Regions from separate parts of the Homo sapiens genome. Here region 2 is linked to region 1. Evidence: promoter capture Hi-C in human tissues and cell types (Jung and others, 2019). All regions are on one chromosome and are shown on one strand. Each heading gives the region's core, a stretch centred on a gene start or on the middle of the fragment in contact. The rest is flanking DNA. Distances are from core to core; before and after follow the strand shown.

Evidence for each region. Contacts are between HindIII fragments. The study calls those that stand out against the background at their distance.
Region 2: a fragment that was not itself captured here is called in contact with the fragment with the promoter of ASH1L in region 1 in 6 of the 25 tissues and cell types used here (H1 embryonic stem cells, IMR-90 fibroblasts, aorta and 3 more).

The regions. Positions count from the first base shown.
Region 1 is chr1:155,557,294-155,564,326 of GRCh38, forward strand. ASH1L (ASH1 like histone lysine methyltransferase) reads right to left here and starts at 5,510. Exons shown (of 28, transcript NM_018489.3): 1 at 4,860-5,510. ASH1L-AS1 (ASH1L antisense RNA 1) reads left to right here and starts at 4,749. Exons shown (of 2, transcript NR_147964.1): 1 at 4,749-4,993; 2 at 5,957-6,651. It also overlaps a transcript of MSTO1 not described here. RefSeq lists silencers at 3,285-3,579, 5,301-5,450, 5,501-5,640, 6,725-7,019 and an enhancer at 5,529-6,096. The HindIII fragment of the contact is 36,648 bases long and covers 1-7,033 here.
Region 2 is chr1:155,523,054-155,529,575 of GRCh38, forward strand. All of the region lies in intron 1 of ASH1L (ASH1 like histone lysine methyltransferase), which reads right to left. Among named protein-coding and RNA genes, the nearest start is that of ASH1L-AS1, 36 kb to the right of the region's middle. The HindIII fragment of the contact is 7,904 bases long and covers 729-6,522 here.

The DNA of each region.
Region 1 (7,033 bases), core at 4,260-6,759:
GCTCTGTCACCCAGGCTGGAGTGCAGTGGCGCAGTCTTGGCTCACTGCAAGCTCCACCTCCCAGGTTCACACCATTCTCCTGCCTCAGCCTCCTGAGAAGCTGGGACTACAGGTGCCCATCACCATGCCCGGCTAATTTTGTTTTTTGGGTTTTTTTTTTGTATTTTTGGTAGAGACAGGGTTTCACCATGTTAGCCAGGATGGTCTCGTTCTCCTGACCTTGTGATCCGCCCACCTCGGCCTCCCAAAGTGCTGGGATTACAGGTGTGAGCCACCACGCCCGGCCTAGAAATCATTATTTTAAAGTTAATTTTGATAAATATCACATTCTGCCAATTACAGGCCTGATGAGGCAGTCACTAAAAAAGCGATTTCTAAAACGTGAAATATAAGACTATTATTAACTATGATGACAAGCAATAAGAAAATCTAGCCTCTTCATATGAAAAAATATAAATGAAAAAACACTAAAATTAATTTTAAGGAAAATGATAACAGAAACTAGCAGCATACCTCAAAACAAAACAAAAATGAACTAGTTGCATTTCCACCTCTTGCGGCACCCAGGTTTAAAATACTACATGCTGCTGAAAAGGCTGGCCTAAGCAGATCTCACAGCAGATTATAGTGAGGTTGTATACTACCTTTAAAAGACTCAGATCAATACACATTATTCAAATAGCAATACAAAGTTATTTTAAATGGAGACCACCACCACCACAATCTTACACATAGTAAGACTTCTCCACTGTGTGCTTCCACATTGTCTTGGGCAGAAATGAAGGTGGCCAATTCAATATTAATAAAGCATGGAGGAAGACTCAGAATAAAGACTCAAGTGGAATTGCTAATACTATAAAGACACAGTACCTAGCAAGTTATTAAGAAGTGATGTGCAGGTGCGGTGGCTCACACCTGTAATCCCAACACTTTGGGAGGCCGAGGCGGGTGGATCACCAGAGGTCAGGAGTTTGAGACCAGCCTGACCAACATGGCAAAACCCTGTCTTTACTAAAAATACATAAAAAATAGCCGGGCGTGGTGGCACACACCTGTAATCCCAGCTATTGGGGAGGCTGAGGCAGGAGAATCCCTTGAACCCAGGAGGCAGAGGTTGCAGCGAGCTGAGATCGCGCTGTTGCACTCTAGGCTGGACAACAAGAGCGAAACTCTCTCTCAAAAAAAAAAATTTAAAAAGTGATGTGCTGTATTCTATTTCACAATATAACTCAAGAGTAGAACATGAAAATCCTTTTCCTTTTTTTAAAGAGACAGTGTTTCACGCTATTGCCCAGGCTGGAGTGCAGTAGCACCACCATAGCTCACAGCAGCTTCCAACTCCTGGGTCAAGTAATTCCCCTGTCTCAGCCTCCAGAGTAGCTAGGACTGCAGGTGTTCATTCTAATTTTTTAACTTTCTGTAGAAATGGGGTCTTCCTATGTTGGCCAGGCTGGTATCAAACTCCTGGGCACAAGTGATCCTCCTGGCTCAGCCTCCCAAAGCACTGGGATCATAGGGATAACCCACTATGCCAGGCCCTAGGCCCCTTTTTCTTTTCTTTTTTTTTTTTTTTTGAGAGAGTCACTCTGTCGTCCAGGCTGGCGTACAGTGGTGGATCTCGGCTCACTGCAACCTCCACTTCAGGGATTCAAGAGATCCTCCTGCCTCAGCATCCCAACTGGCTGGGACTACCGGCACACACACCATGCCTGGCTAATTTTTGTACTTTTAGTAGAGACGGGGTTTTGCCACGTTGGCCAGGCTGGTCTCAAACTCCTGACCTCTGGTGAGCCACCCTCTTCAGCATCCCAAAGTGATTACAAGTGAGAGCCACCATGCCCAGCGACATCAAAACCTTTTTACATAAACGCACTGTAGAAATATATCCCAAAAGAAGGTAAGAAATATAAATGTTTGCCTTCTTCTCAAACCAATAGTTCCTTTATACAAAAACACCAGATGAGGCCGGGCGCGGTGGCTCACCCCTGTAATCTCAGCACTTTGGGAGGCCGAGGCGGGTGGATCATCTGTCAGGAGTTCCAGACCAGCCTGACCAACATGGAGAAACGCTGTCTCTACTAAAAATACAAAATTAGCAGGGCATGGTGGCACATGCCTGTAATCCCAGCTACTCGGGAGGCTGAGGCAGGAGAGTCACTTGAACCCAGGAGGCAGAGGTTGCAGTGAATTGAGATAGCGCCACTGCACTCCAGCCTGTTAACAAGAGTGAAACTCAGTCTCAAAAAAAAAAAAAAAAAGCACAAGATGATACAAAACATATTTTTTTAAAGTACAAAGCTGCATACAGAGTATAAACACTTTATGCTTATTCAAAGAGTAAGTAGTGGCAAAAATCTCTTTGCAATTGGGTAACAAAATTTCAACTTCTAGGAATGTTTCCCTCTTCCTTGTCCTTTTGAGAGCTGCCACCATCAAACAATTCAGACTCAACTGAATTAGCATCTCTTCAAGCACAGAGACCATATATTATTGATTTTTGTGTCTCCTGCATAGGATTAACTCAGTGTTTGTTATAACTAAGCTAAACTCCAAGACAGGAGCTTCAAATCACCTCAGGCCCAATCCAAAACTGAAAAAAGACAAACCCACTTCTCAGAGTTTAGGAACAAAAAGATACTGACAAAGAACAAAGCCATAGATACTTGTGCTATATTATATTCCCTTATCACCAAATTCAGAGTCCTTTACTAATACTGCAGAAATAAGTTTGCAGATGATAAAAAGAATAAAAAACATGGACCCTAAAGTTCTCCTGTCAACATGTTCAAATACCATAGACTCTTTCATCTTAAACTCATACTAACATCCACACACCCGAACAATGAAAATGAAAGGTTTTCAAATGAGACCTAAATATAAATTGGCTCTATTTTATTACATTTTAAGTTCCTAAAATCATATATATAAATCATGTGATTGTGCTTATGCTCATCTTCTAACTTGAGGGCCCAGTGTCTTTCATCAGATTCTCAAAAGGATAAGTGACCCCAAAAAATTTTAAGAACCACTCATCTAGCCTATCAAGAAACATCCCATTTTTCAGAAGAATACGGTTAAGTGGCTTAGTTTATGCATTCTTTCTTCATATTCATAGAGGGGATTCTTACTATATGAAATGAGTCTTTCAAAGGATTCCTTCAGCCCAGCCAAGAAGTTCCAACATCCACAGGCACATGTATTAACAATTACCAGAACCCAAAAACAGTTCTCTGGTTTTAATTCCACACCGCCTCCCTCAACTTAATACCCACCACTGTCAAAACAACTCCCCTCACGTTGTACCCAGGCTATTTACAGAGACACCTTGATTATCCTCACGCCAAGGCATGGACCATTTATTGAACAGGCAGTCAACAAATATTTGTTGAATGAATGAAAAAGGATCCTTCCTCCCACAGATTTCAAGTTAAGCTGTCAGCACCCATGCAGCTGCTCTGGTACAAGTTAAGCTGTGAAAGCCTTCTCTCCCTCACACATACAACCTCAAGTGTCAGAAATGCTCTGCTTCCTCCATAAATCCAAAATAATATAGTCATGGATATGCATTTCATACAGGTCAGACTCGGCAAGGACAGCTACGTTCCACATACATATCTGACACAATCGGTCTCCCCCAAATACAAGCCAACCAGTCTTATGTGCTCCTATCTTTCCAGCATACTCAGATTTGCCGACAAAGACTTCCTGAGGCACCATGGTATGCTGAATATACTGCTGCAGTAGTAGTGAAAATATGGGAGTTACAGTTCCAACTTTGTCACCAATTTAACATGCGGCCTTGGAGAAGTTCTCTCCTTATGCCTAAATTTCCTATTTTGTAAAATGGAAGAAAGCATCCTACCATTTTCACAGAGATTCAGTATCACAAAAAAACTGAAAGAGCTTTCTTATTGTATTGTAAACTATTACTATAAACCCGCGACAACAAATAAGGCCACCCATTCTTTACAACTTTGTAGTAATGATTCTGTTAAAGATATTTTGGCCCTTCACATTTACACAACTCACTCTAACCAAAGGCACAAACTATTCTTAAGACCACAACTGGCTATGCCAAGTTTCTCCCCTCCCTGACCTCACAGACACATGCTGTACAGAACACTACCATTGCCGCTCTTTCCCAACAAGTAACTAGGGGCTCCCAATCCCTAAAATACACACACATATCAACCTGCAAGGAACCTCCCAACATTTATTCAAGAAATAAGCTAACTTATAAGGGGAACTCCATTACACTTACACAAATAAAGGCAAACTCTTACGGAAACACTTGCCATCCTCACATACACACACCAACACAGCCGCTACACACCAACAGACCATCTGTCTGCTAGACCAAAAACATCTCTTTCCATGTACAAACTAACCAGTGACATTTATTAAACTTACAACACTGAGATCATCCTGTCGTTCCCACATACCGTTCAACGCGGCAGGGACACCACAGACCTTGTCACACAGGTAAAATCCCCTCTCAAGATCGTGTCCTCGACCACTCTTATCCCTTAATTAAACACACACAAACTGGACTATGGGGGAGGCTCCGATCATGCCTACAAACACAAACTAACCTGTCAGGGGCACAGCCGACTCCGCCTCCACTCGCTTACTTCCCAGCCCCCTCCGGGAGTCTGCCTGTCAGGGACACCCCTTCACCCCGCCTGGAGGGACTTCCCGGTAGGCTCAGGATCCCCCTCCCTGCTCTCCCCTCCCCCATCTTCACCACTGCTCTCTCAGAGATCCAGGTCCGGGAGATGACAGTGGCTCCCAGAAAGCCCAGGATTCAATCGCTGAGAGAGTGCTTAGGCCCGAATGCCGGCCCAAATCGTTCTACTCACCGTGTCGGAGGCCGAGGCCGAGGCCGAGAGCGATGAGAGTGCAGGGAAGTGGGGAAGAGGGGGTGGCCGCCAGGCTCCTCCGCTTCCCTGGGTCCACGGCGGATCCCTCCCGCTTGTCAGGAGGCGGCCAGCGGGTAAGCTGACTGGCGGAAATGCGAGAGAGGAGAAGGGAAAGGTGGAAGGCTAAAGGGGGCAAACTGAGGGGAGGCGGGTCCCGCAACCGAGACTGGGATCGTCTCCCCTCCGCAAAGCGAACCCAAAATGGCGGCGGGAGCGGCGGCGGCGGCGGCGGCAGCAGCAGAGTGGCGGCGGTGGCGGCGGCAGCTCCTCCAGAGGGAGGGAGCGAAGGGCGCCTAGCGCCCCCCTCAACCTTCCACTCCTTCCTCCTTGCGTTCTTTCCCACCGTCCCCCGCTCCGCCCGACTCCGTCCGCGTAGCGCGCACGCCCGCCCGCACGCGTACGAGTGTCTACGGGCTCGTCGCTGGCTGCTCCCACCAACCACCACCTTCGGCCGCCCCGCGCGCCAGCCAGCCCGTACGCGCTCACCCACAGGAACCCCCTCGTCCAGTCCCTCACTACCCCTCAGGCCCTGTCAAGCCGGCGCCGGCGCAGGCCCTCACGCGTACCTTCAACGGCGCAAGCCCAAGCCTCCTCCTCCTCCTCCTCCACCTCCTCTTCTCTCCTCCCCCCCCTTCCCCGCCCCCACGGCCACCAACCGCCGCCACGGCCGCCGCCGCCGCCGCCAGCCCCCCCTACCACCCTCCACCCCTCGCGCGTGCGCCTCCCACAATCCCCCCCGCGGGACTGTTCCATTCCTGTCGGCTGCAGGGGCAGGAGAGGAAGGGACGGGCCGAGCGGGTCGGGGCTTGCCGTTTGACTGGAATTGCCAGAATGGCGGACCGAGCCCCACGACAACCTACCTCCCTGGGCTCCTCGCCGCAGCGCTGCGGCTCGCCTCCCTCTGCTCCTCCTCCTCCGCCGGATCGCGGCGAGCGGATCGAGGACTGCCTAGCGCCCCTCTGCCCACCGGTGGTTGGAGGCCGCGGCGGCTGCGCGTTGAGTCGTTTCCTGCCGGTTGACCTGAGCCTACTTCGCAGTAGCAGGACCGCTGCTGTGGAGCTGGTCGCAGGCGGTGTGTGCCGGTCGCCTAGTCAGGAGAACTAGTCCTCGACTCACGGTGAGGGAATGGACCGACACGGGTATTGTACCGCTGAGGGAAAGGAGCGGGACTCCGGACCTCCAGGAGGTAGGGAGTGAGGCCAGTAGGACCGGCGCGCCTCCGGGGGGATTCCTCCCGGGCGTTGAGTTGCCAACCTGGGACCCGAGGAAGATCGGCGTGGTGGTGTGCTTTTTGTTGTTGTTAACCCTCCTCGGATTTCTCGAATTTCACACCACTGTCCATATGCGATGATGTTTGTTTGCCCTTGACGCACTTACTCATGGATGGTACTTCTTCAGCCTCGTTAGACAGCCTGGTGATGGAGGATGAAGAAACCATGTGCTTTTCATTCAGTTCTGGACTTAGTCTCCCTTTTCTTCCTTCAGCAAGTTATTTTTGTTAGTTCCTTATCAAAAAGTGTACATAAAAATTAGGCAACTCCAAACATGCCTCCAGGGTTAATGTGTGAAATAATAAGATAATATATGTAAAGTGGAATTAGCTCCTAGGCATAGGGAAAGTGCAGAATATTGCCGTGTTGTCATTTACAGTTCTGTTGATGTCGATAACGTTTGTGGGTGTAATTGGTAGTGTTCTGTCCCTCCAAGGAGTTAATAAAACAAAGCAAACATAGGCCTGTTAGGTTTCTGTGGCTACTGAATATTTGTTTCTCAAAACACTTGACTGATATTTGATAATTGAATGCAGCAGAAATACGGACGATTAAAGTCCACAAATAATTCCAAAGTTTACTTGATCTAGTAGTTTTTACCTTTACCTAAAGGGTAAAGCAGAATAAATTACCGGAAGGATCTACTTGGGTTTCCCTTTCCTTCACATTTGTGGACTCCTGGGGATCCAGGAAGTAATTCAGAAATGACTGTTCAAAAGCCCATGCAAGGCCGGGCGCGGTGGCTAACGCTTGTAATCCCAGCGCTTTGGGAGGCCAAGGTGGGCGGATGACCTGAGGTCAGGAGTTCGAGACCAGCCTGGCCAACATGGCAAAATCCCGTCT
Region 2 (6,522 bases), core at 3,431-5,930, 35 kb before region 1:
GACTAGTCTTCATGTCAAACATATGTCTGAGTCAAGATCTAGAACTAGTATCTGGAAAACGGAGAACATCTTATCCCTTAGAAAGTTCCATTTATGAAGTAGAATATTTTAAACGATGTGCCCTGAGACTTTTCATTACAACAAGAGAGTAAGATTCCTGGCCAGGCATGGTGGCTCACACCTATAATCCCAGCACTTTCAGGGACTGAGGTGGGTGGACTCTTTGAGCCCAGGAGTTTGAGACCAGACTGGGCAACATGGCAAAATCCTGTCTCTAAAAAAGTACAAAAATTAGCAGGGTGTGATGGCACACACCTGTAGTCCCAGCTCTCAGGAGACTGAGGTGGGAGATCACTTGAACCTTGAAGGTCGAGGCTGCAGTGAGCTGTGATCAAGCCACTGCACTCCAACCTGGGCAACAGGGCAAGACCCTGTCTCAAGGGAAAAAATAGTTGTCTTATGACTTCTACAAGGAATGTAAGTAAAATACCTCGCCCAATGACTGGCACATAGCGAGGGCTCAATAAAAGGTACTGGCCGGGTATGGTGTCTCATGCCTGTACTCTCAGCACCTTGCGGGGGCCAAGGCAGGTGCATCACTTGAGGTCACCAGTTCGAGTCTAGCCTGGTCAACATGTCGAAACCCGTCTCTACTAAAAGTACAAAAATCAGCTGAGTGTGGTGGCAGGTGCCTGTAATTCCAACTACTCAGGAGGCTGAGGCATGAGAATCACTTGAACCTGGCAGGCGGAGGTTGCAGTGAGCCAAGATCATGCTATTGCACTCCAGGCCAGGTGACAGAGCAAGAAAAAAAAAGGTGCCAATAATTTAGTAGTAGTAGGAGCAGCAGCAGTGTTTATAAGTACTCAACAAATTTTGGCCGATTGGGTAACTCCTTAGCTTGTTATTGCTCCATTCAATCATATAAACAGCTGGAAAACTAATCTTCCAATCATTTCACTCTGATGATTCTTGTCTACCATTTCATGTATTAACATTTCACAATGGCATTCAAGGCTTTTAATAACCTCACTCTCCTCTAACTATTCAAACTTATCTTTACTTCCCAACACACACCCACTATCATTTAGTCAATTCAGTTTTCTTTACTGTCCCTAACAAATCATGTTCATTTCTGCTTATGTGTCATATAAACATACACACTCTCCCTTTAAACATACAAAGTAGGCTGAGCATGGTGGCTCATGCCTATAATCCCAGCACTTTGGGAGGCTGACGGGGCGGATCAGGAGGTCAGGAGATCGAGACCATCCTAGCTAACTCGGTGAAACCCCATCTTTTAAAAAAAAATACAAAAATTAGCCAGGCGTGGTGGCGGGTGCCTGTAGTCCTAGCTACTCGGAAGGCTGAGGCAGGAGAATGGCGTGAATCTGGGAGGCAGAGCTTGCAGTGAGCCGAGATTGTGCCACTGCACTCCAGCCTGGGCAACAAAGCAAGACTCCGTCTCAAAAAAAAAAAAAAAAAAAGTACAAAGTTAGCTGTGCACAGTAGCTCGCACCTACAATCCCAGCACTTTGGGAGACTAAAGTGGGAGGATCGCTTTAGCCCAGGAGTTCAAAGCCAGTATGGACAACACAGTGAGACCTCATCTCTACAAAAATAAAAAATAAAAAATTAGCCAGGTGTGTGGTGTCATGTGCCTATAATCCCAGCCACTCAAGAGGCCGAGGTGGGAAGATGGTTTGAGCCCAGGAAGTTGAGGTTACACTGAGCCGTGATTGTACCACTACACTCTAGCTTGGGCAACAGAACAAGACCCTGTCTCAAAAAAACAAATACATAATTAGGGAAGGGAGAAAAAATAAATAATAAAATGCTGTGTATAAAAAGTAATTAAAATAACCCAAATGTTTTTTTAAAAATAAATAATAATTTTAAAAGTTCAAATCCTGCCTGGGCACGGTGGCTCACGCCTGTATTACTGGCACTTTGGAAGGCTAAGGCAGGAAGATCACTTGAGCTTAAGAGTTTGAGACCAGTCTAGCAAACACAGCAAGACCCTCTCTCTACAAAAAATAAAAAATTAGCCCAGCATGGTGGTGCACACCTATAGTCCCAGCTACTCGGGAGGATGAGGCAAGAAGATGGCTGGAGCCTAGGAAATCGAGGCTGCAGTGAGCCATGTTCATGCCACTGGACTCCAGCCCGGGCAACAGAGCGAGACCCTATCTCAAAAAGTAAATTAAAAAAATAAACTCTAAAACAAAAAATAAAAAGTACAAAGTCCTATCTTCTCCATGATGGGCTCACAATCCTGAAGTCCAAAAAACTCTGAAATCCAAGTTTTTTCAAAACCTAGTGATAAAACTTGACACGGACCCATTTTAGTCTTAATTACCCTAATTTCCATGAATAATGATAAATTACAATGCAGAAGTATTAATGGGCTTGATTAAGTTAGTAAAGGATGCTACTACTCCCAAACACCACTGTGCCAGTTCACCCAATCTACATTTCTAAAAGCCAAAAAAAAAAAAAGAAGAAGAAGAAAAATAAGAAAAAAGAAAAACGTGTAACACTTGCAGGGAATTTTTTTAAAAAGAAAAAAACTTACGGCACCAACATTTGGGTAATGGATTCTAGACCTATGTTCTCAGACCTATATTTAAGCTTGCACTGACCTGATCCATCCCTGAATATTTATGATCCATATAAGATCACAATTAGGGCAATTAACTTTTTTCTTGTTCTGTATTTGTCAGCTATACCCCTCAACAGATTAAGTCCTCCCACCTCCCATCCCACCCCCTCAGATACCAAAATCTGACGATGCTCAAGTCACTTATATAAAATGGTATGGTATTTGCATACAGCCTATACACATGCTCCTGTATACTTGAAATCATCTCTGGATTACTTATAATACCTAACATAATGTAAATGATATATAAATAGTTATTAAACTGTACTTTAAAATTTTGTATAATTTTTTATTATTGTATTGTTATTTTTAATTTTTTCTAATATTTTTCATCCGCAGTTGGTTGAATCCACAGGTGCGGAATCACAGATAGGGAAGGCCAACTGTATAATTAAAATATAAGCTTCATGAGGATAGGAACCTCTTCTGGCTTGCTCACCACTGTAACCCCAGCAGCTGAAACAATGAATAGCACAAATTTTAGTACCCAATAAATAGCTGAATAAATGAATGAGTGAATTTTAAGGTTCCTGTAACTTCTAATACAATGATTGGCATGTAGCAAATGTCTTTTTTCCTGTTTTACATAACTTTATCTTGTGTTACAATGAGAAAACTATACACAAGTTTTTTCTTAATATGTTTATATTTCACATAGGTGGTTTTCTGTAAATTTACTAAAATATCCTAATTTCAGCACTAACATACTTCCAAATCATATTTTATACATCTTCTGTCTCTGTACCATCACAGCTAGTCTAAGAAAAACAATAACACTCAATGATCTCATTTTATATTCCTGACCACTAACTCCGAGTAAGCCCTTGGTGCTGCCAATACACTTCCCTAATCTATTCCCTCTACCACTCTCCTAAAAAACTATTTCATCCCATCTCCCCTTTCTTCATTGTCCCTAATTTTGCTTCCTATCTGATCACAGCAGTAGTCAGATAGGAAGCAGTAACAAACAGAAAAGTGCCACAAGTGCCCACCATATATCTACCTACCTTCCTACCTGTGTCTGTTCCTATAGTCTGACTGCCTTCCTATCACAATATATAAACGATCTCTCCTTTCAACCTCTTCATTTAGGCAACTATCTCCTTTCTCTCTCACATCATCCATTTCTCATATTTCCTCTGAATAATGCCAATAAGCCTGAAAACAAAAACATACTATAATATCTCTCATGGAAGAAAATTCCTCTTAGCCGAGCAAGATGGCTCACGCCTGTAATCCCAGCAGTTGGGAGGCCAAGGCGGGCAGACCTCACTTGAGGTCAGATACTCAAGACCAGCTTGGCCAACGTGGTGAAACCCCATCTCTACCAAAAATATAAGAAATTAGCCAGGTGTGGTGGCGCATGCCTGTAATCCCAGCTACTCAGGAGGCTGAGGCAGGAGAATTGCTTGAACCCGGGAGGCAGAGGTTGCAGTGAGCCAAGATGGTGCCACTGCACTCCAGCCTAGGTGACAGAGCGAGACTCCGTCTCAAAAAAAAAGAAAAAAAAAAATTCCTCTTGACTCCACATCCTCCACCATCTTCCCATTTCTCTGTTCCTCTTCACAACAAAATTGTTAGAATTCTCTATATTGTCTATTCTCCCTGACCTCCAATCCTTGCTTTTTCTCTTGAACATACTGATTATACTTTCACTGCCACCCCTCCATAGAAACTGCTAGTCAAGGTCACCAACAACCTCCACATTGCTAAGAAGAATGATCAATTCTCAGTCCTCTCATCTTACCTGACCTATCAACAGAATTTGGCACAGCTAAACAGCTCCCTCGCTACCTCACTTGACTTACGGGATACCTTTTTTTTTTTTTTTTTTTTTTTGAGTCAAGGTCTCTCTCTGTCACCCTGGCCAGAGTGCAGTGGCACAATCATAGCTCACTGCAGCCTCAAAATCCTGGGCTCAAGTGATTCTCCTGCCTCAGACCCCAAGTAGCTATTCCAAGTAGCTAGAAATACAGGCATGTGCCACCATGTCCAATTTTTTTTCACTGTTTTAGAGACAGGGTCTCACTAGGTTGCCCAGGCTAGTCTTCAAGTCCTGGCCTCAAGCAATCCTCCGACCTCAGACTCCCGAGTAGCTGGGATGACAGGCATGAGTCACCGTGCCCAGCTCTGGGACTCCTCTCTTGATTGTTCTTCCTCACTGGCTACTACCCTCTGTCTCCTTTGCAGGTTCTTTCCTTCCTCCATGACCTTTAAATACTGGAGTGACGCAGGGTACCCGGACCTCTTCCTTTTTCTATCTACACTCAGTTCCCAAATGACCAGATCCAGTCTTACGGCTTTAAATTTCATCTAACATTGATGATTCACAAATTTCTATCTTCAGATAGAGACTAGCTGAGACCTCTTTCTGGAACTTCAGATTCACATATCTAAATGCTTACTTGACATACTGACTGGATTGTGTAATAGATAGGCACTTAACATGTTTAAAATCAATTCATCTTTGCCCACTGCCCCAAATCTATTCTTCCTACAGGTTTCATTTCAAAATATGGTAATTCCAAAGAGAAATATTTAGGCCAAAAATCTCTACCCATCCTTAATTGCTTTTTCTCTCAAACCCCTCATGTCCATTTGGTCAGCTAAGTTTGTCAGCTTTACCTTCAAAATGTATGCAGAATCTAACCAGTTGTCATTACTCTGACAGCTATTAGATCCAAGTGATGATAAATATGTGAATGGATTATTGCAATAGCTTTTTTTTTTTTTAAAGAAAGAGGTTTATTTAAAGGAATTGCTCACATGATTATGGAAGCTGGCCAGTCCCAAAATCTGCAGGGTGGGTCAGTGGCAGGCTGAAGACCCAGGAAGACCCAATGTTTTCATTCTGCTGGCAGACTTGCCTCTTACTGAGGAGAGGTCAATCTTTTGTTCTGTTAATGCCTTCAGTTGAGTAGATGAAGTTCCTCCCCAACATTATGGAGGGTGATCTGCTTAACTCAAAGTCCATTGATTTATTGATTTTTTAATATATTTAACTTTTATTCTAAGTTCAGGGGTACATGTGCAGGTTTGTTACGTGGGTAAACTTGTGTCATGGGGGTTTATTTCATCACCCAGGTATTAAGCCTAGTACCCATTAGTTATTTTTCCTGATTCTCTCCCTCTTCCCACCCTCCACCCTCCAATAAGCCCCAGTGTGTGTTGTTCCCCTCTATGTGTCCATGTGTTGTCATCATTTAGCTCCCATTTATATGTGAGAACATACAGTATTTGATTTTCTGTTCCTGCACTAGTTTGCCAAAGATAATGGCCTCCACTCCATCCATGATCCTGCCAAGTACATGATCTCATTTTTTTTTTGTGGCTCCATAGCATTTCATGATGTATATGTACTACATTTTCTTTATCCAGTCTACCATTGGTGGGCATTTAGGTTAATCCCATGTCTTTGCTATTGTGAATAGTGCTGCAATGAAGATACGCATGCATCTGTCTTTATGATTTATATTCCTTTGGGTATATACCCAGTAACGGGACTGCTGAGTCAAATGTTATTTCTGTTTTTAGGTCTTTGAGGGATGACCACAGTCTTCCACAATGGCTTAACTAATTTACACTCCCACCAATAGTGTATAAGCACTCCTTTCTCTCTGCAACCTTGCCAGCATCTTTTTTTTTTTTTTTTTGACTTTTTAATAGCCATTCTGAATGATGTGAGATGGTCTCACTGTGGTTTTGATTTGCATTTCTTGAATGATCAGTGATGTTGAGCTTTTCCTCATGATTGTTGGCTGCATGTATGTCTTCTTTTGAGAAGTGTCTGTTCATGTCCTTTACCCACTTTTTAATCATTTTTTTTCTCATAGATTTGCTTAAGTTCCTTACAGATGCTG